2 separate regions of the Homo sapiens genome follow, and region 2 is linked to region 1. Evidence: promoter capture Hi-C in human tissues and cell types (Jung and others, 2019). All regions are on one chromosome and are shown on one strand. Each heading gives the region's core, a stretch centred on a gene start or on the middle of the fragment in contact. The rest is flanking DNA. Distances are from core to core; before and after follow the strand shown.

Region 1 (2,784 bases), core at 148-2,647:
TTCATTGTCAGGATGCATCTCCTCAGCCCATGTGATGGGCAGCAGCCACTGGTAATTCTTTCTGCTTTCCTTGGATATACTTTAGTGTTAGTGATGGAGTGTGGACCTGATTTTCTCATGTTCTATTCCTATGTCTCCTAGACTCCTTACCCAAGTTCCATTCCTGGAAGACTTTTTTCTTGCAAAAAAGGCACTTATTTTGAAACAACTCCTTGTCACTTTCCACAAAGAGCTAAGATTGTTCCTCATCACTACTACTGCTTCCTGCATACTTTCAATGTGGTATCTTGACTTTAAAGAACCATGAAACACTCCCCCACTTTATTTTTCATGATTAATGAAAGGGATTTCCTCTGTGGTGGATGAACTGGTTTGGCATAAAGGGGGTATCTTCTACATATTAGTATCTATAGTAACATTCTAGGCAAGAAAGAAGCATACTAATACCACTCATCCAAACTAAAAACTTTCGGGATTATTACCAAGAACAAAAAATCAACCCCCCACATGACAAACAGAAATCCCTTTGCATTGTTAAATGACCTCCTGATTATACCCCTCTGCCCACCCTTCCTTCAAAAAACAGCCCTCCTATTTTGTGATGTGTAATCTTTATTCAAGCAGCTATCCCCACGCAATTACATTTGTCAAACTTCAAGCAGTTTTGTGTCTGTGCATTTTCACTGGGGTTGGAGAACTGACAAGGGAGGAATGAATCTTGAGTAGCATAGAATTTCTCCATGTCCTTTAATTCTATCAATGTTTTCTTCTCTCATTCAAATTGAATTCACCAAATCTGTCTGCCTACAGGATGACTTACTGAGACACTCACACCTCCCCCACTGTCTGCTCCCCCAGCTCTAACAATGCAACCATGATTTCTAAGACTGTACGAGTTTAAAATAAGGATTCTTGGCAGATCTGACGACCACAAACCTTCTGTCATTGATGATGTAGCTTCTGGGCTTGCTAAAGCATCTCTTGTCCCCATGAATGCCAGTCCTTGCATGCTGGTGTGTGCAGTAAAGGGTTAAAAAGCTTTGGAAAGACACCACGCATGTGTTAATTCGTGCTGCAGCAGCGTGCATCACTTCCACTTTGACCTCATAGTTAATCTGCGTGATAGTTAATCACGCAGAGTCTCTAGTGATTTTTTTCCTATTTATTTTAAATACACACACCCACAGGGCTCTGCCCCCTGTAAAAGAAAAAAAATCAAAACAAACAAATAAATAACCCCAAAGAGATGGACCCAGGGGAGAACGCGTAAGTGTGAGGGGCATGAGTATACACGAGTGTGCGTGTCTTTCCCTCTCCCTTATTTGTCTCCGTATGAGTCTCTCCTTGTACCCTCCCCCTGCCTCGATGATATTACTCCCCCAGACTTGGAAGCCGCTGCCAGAGTGACGCTTTGATGGTATCTGCAAGCGTTTTTGCTGATCTTATCTCTGCCCCCTGAATATTAATTCCCTAATCTGGTAGCAATCCATCTCCCCAGTGAAGGACCTACTAGAGGCAGGTGGGGGGAGCCACCATCAGATCATAAGCATAAGAATAATACAAAGGGGAGGGATTCTTCTGCAACCAAGAGGCAAGAGGCGAGAGAAGGAAAAAAAAAAAAGCGATGAGTTCGCCAAATATATGGAGCACAGGAAGCTCAGTCTACTCGACTCCTGTATTTTCACAGAAAATGACGGTGTGGATTCTGCTCCTGCTGTCGCTCTACCCTGGGTAAGATGTGCCCTTTTTGGCGTCGTTTTGTTCTGAAGAGGTGGGGGGAAGGTGTGGGGAGGGGTAACTCGGGAGACCACCCAGATTTAAAACACTCTCCTAGGATGTGCGGCTTTACAATTTAGGAGAGAGCGAATATATGGGGCGGGGACTGGAGGGAGGAAAGTGGAAGGTCACTTTCGTTAATGTATTCATTTATTGGATTTTATTTTATTTTTTGTTTGGTTTTAGAGTGGAAAAGGTAACCTCATAAAGACTAAATATTTAGGGAGTAGCATTTTGACATTATTGCAATCTGATATCGGAGTGGGCTGTGCTGATACACGCCGGCATTTGAGGCCGTGTTGCAAGCATTTTGGGTGGGGGTCTGATGGAGAAATTTACAAATGGGTCCTGGCGCACACCGGAGAGATATGTGTGAGGGAGCTGGGGGGAGGGGCGGCGGGCGGCCCTGTTCCTGTGTACTAAGGCATCGCATGCTTCTGCACCTGGCATTCTTAAGGTCAGTCAGCCAGGTTTTGCATCCAGTCCCATTGACCCAACAGCCAACTACCCGTGTGCAAACATGGTTCAGCACCAGGGACAGCAGTCCTGGTGAGGGCCAAAGGGATAGAGGCTTGTCTAACCTGATAGAACGTCTCTAAATATACTCAGGGCATCCACAGAGTCAGAGAGAAGGCCAATGAAGCCACGGGGCACTAATGAAATATACAGATCCTGATCTGTTTACCTCTACTCCCTCCTTGATATGGGAAGGGGACTATTGGGCATAGGGTGGAGAACGTAGTTAAATGATTGCATAGGGGAATATACGTCTGGAAAAGAGTTGGCCTTGCTGCAGTGTTGGAAAATATGCTGAACCAGGTGAATGTGATGCCATAATCGTGAAGTACACATTAATGTTTTAAAACCTTGCTGCACTGAATAGAAAAAAAAAGGTAAGGCTGGAGACTGGACTCCTGAAAACCCTGAGAATGTGTATGCCCTGAAGTGCCCGGCATTTAAATTTACTTGAACTTTCCTGAGCTAAGAGTATTAGAGGAGCAACCATCC
Region 2 (2,784 bases), core at 77-2,576, 460 kb after region 1:
CTCAGGGACCAGTGGTGGCAGCAGCAGGCAGAGCATGCCTGTCCTTGGTCCCTAGGGCTGAATACACTGGCACCAGTTTTAGATGGTTCAGAGGGATGAATTTTTGAGCCTCTAGGCATTGATAGGCTTTGCTGGTGGTGGGTTATCAGGCCTCTAGCAGCCTGCATGTTGTGGACAATGGCAATAGCAGTGGGGTGTCTAACCTTTGGGAACCAAGTGGTATTTGCCAGTGTTAGCAGTGGCTGCAATGAGCAAGGTGGGCCAGTTTCCAGGCCCACAGAAGCATGTGCAGTTTAGTGCCAACTGTGATGGTAGCAACAGGTTGGGTGGGCCTGATCTCAGTCCCTTAAGAGGAACACTCGGGTGTCAACAGTAGTGGACTGGGCAGGGAAGTCCCCAGGCCCTTGAACAGCATAAGAATGTAAAGCAGGGCTTGGTGGGCCCATCCTCCAGCACCCAAGTGGTGTGGATAGGCACTGGCTGTGGTAGGCAGCAGCAGATTGAGCCCAAGGCCCACAGCAGAATGCTCTGGGTGAGGGTGGCAGCAGCAGTGGCTGCACTGTAGACCTACTATTGGGGAGAACAGGTGTGCTTTCAGGGACAACAGTCATAGGCAGACAGCTGAGGAGTATGTGCTTCACTTGTGTTTCAACCCTGGATGTGACAGCTTGTAGTGATGGCTACTGCTAGTTGCAGAGTTTGCCCTCAGAGTGCATGAAAATGTGAAGTGACATCACTCCTGGGGCAACAGGGTATTTGCCAAAAGCTCATACTTCAGCCCTGGATGCAGCATCCAGCCATGGTGGTGGCTGAAGGTGGGGAATCTCTGAAGGCTCTAGAGATGTGGGGATGCAAGCACTGTTGGACCTCCAGGCAGGATGCAGTCTGGTGGAGGCTGGGCTCTAAATATGCTGTCTTTCAGTAGCTGCTTAGCTTAGAATGTATTGGACTCAGTGTGAGCTCCCTGTCTGGAACAATGTTTTCATACTGCCTCCATGCAACTCCTTATGCTAGTCTTAGGGACTGCAAGGGTCTAGGGGCTTTCCCATGCCCAGGATGCAAGAGTCCATAGTGGAAATGTGAAGCTCTATGGGTGACTCACTTATCCTTGACTGCAATGGAGAATCTCTTCAGGCTACCGGATGATCCCAGAGAAGCAGACTGCCATGCTTCCCTCTCCGTGCTTATTTTAGGTGTTTCCTGTAGCTTCTCTGTTGAATTCCAGTGTTCTTTCTTACATTATGTATTTATGTATTTGCATTGCAGTTATCTTCTCACTATTTTGGTTCCCCTTTGTGGAGGATAAGACTACTTGGTGCTTTTAATCCACCTTCTTTTCCTTCTTTTTTTATTTATTATTTTTTAATTATTTTAGTAGAGATGGGGTTTCACCATGCTAGCCAGGATGGTCTCGATCTCCTGACCTCGTGGTCCCTCTGCCTCAGCCTCCCAAAGTGCTGGGATTACAGGCGTGAGCCACCATGCCTGACCCGTTAATCCACCTTCTTGAAGGTGCTTTCTGAGATTTACCTTTATTTATTTTTATTCTGGACTGATTTCCCTTAGACTTTGCACATGTGTATTAATATTTGTTGGCTTACTCTTTTTTTTTTTTTTTGAGATGGAGTCTCACTCTGTCACCCAGGCTGGAGTGAATTGGTGCAATCTCGGCTCACTGCAACCTCTGCCTCCTGGGCTCAAGTGATTCTCGTGCCTTAGCTTCCCGAGTAGCTGGGACTACAGGTGCACACCACCACACCCAGAAAATTTTTTCTTTTTTTTGTATTTCTAGTAGAGACAGGGTTTCACCATGTTGCCCAGGGTGGTCTTGAACTCCTGAGTTCAGGCAATCTACTAGCCTCAGCTTCCCAAAGTGCTAGGATTACAGGTGTGAGCCAACACGACCGGCCAGTTAGTTTACTCTTAAAATTCCTAAATAATTCCAAATCTCTCTTGGGATTATTTTTCCCATACTTCTGGTAATCTCTTGCCTACATTAAACTTAAATTCCTTTTATCATAAGTTTACAATAAAAAAAAAATCTAACCTCTGTAAATAGAATCATCCTCCATCCGTAGAACTATGTTCTCCTTTTTTCTCAAGCCAGAGCTCAAAGAAACCAATGACAATGACCTTGTAAGATTTGAAAGTGAGAAATATGAGATTGCAAATTGCACTGCCATTCCCTATCCTATGCTGTCAGAAACATCACCAATCCATCAGAATTCTTTCCTGTGCTGAGCTCAAGAGTTATTTATAAATGCATCTCAATTAATGGCTTATTATTTTTTCCTTAATCATTTTACTTAATTCCTACAACAAACCAAGGAGCTAGGTGTTACTAATCCCATTTTACAAATGAGGACACTAAAATCTAGATAGGATTGTAACTCATCCAAGGTTATGCTGTTAGCAGTAGGTGATTACAAGATTCCAGTCTAGGTTTGTCTGGTTCCAAGGCCCATGCTGTTAAAACTGTGTTGCCTGTGGTGGTATGGCCTGATTGGTTGGCCTGATTTGTTGGCCATGGGAATGACAGGAAGCCACATATTAAAGGACTCTCCCTTGAGGTGTCTTAGGAAGAGCCCCAATGATCAGGTGAAGTCCTTGGCTCTTTCTGAAGCAGCCAAATGTGTATAAAACGGTGCTATGTAAGTTCGATGAAGAAGTTCATTTATAGAACATATCCTTGCTCTAGAAATATGTCATTACAGAGCATAGTGATACATTGCCTATGTATTATCCCACACTAAGAAACAAACCATATTTATTCAAACCAATGAC

Evidence for each region. Contacts are between HindIII fragments. The study calls those that stand out against the background at their distance.
Region 2: a fragment that was not itself captured here is called in contact with the fragment with the promoter of GABRG2 in region 1 in 1 of the 25 tissues and cell types used here (heart left ventricle).

What each region holds. Positions count from the first base shown.
Region 1 is chr5:162,066,376-162,069,159 of GRCh38, forward strand. GABRG2 (gamma-aminobutyric acid type A receptor subunit gamma2) reads left to right here and starts at 1,398. Exons shown (of 10, transcript NM_198904.4): 1 at 1,398-1,731. The coding sequence starts at 1,625. The HindIII fragment of the contact is 5,062 bases long and covers 1-2,784 here.
Region 2 is chr5:162,524,992-162,527,775 of GRCh38, forward strand. No RefSeq gene overlaps it. Among named protein-coding and RNA genes, the nearest start is that of GABRG2, 460 kb to the left of the region's middle. The HindIII fragment of the contact is 5,952 bases long and covers 1-2,784 here.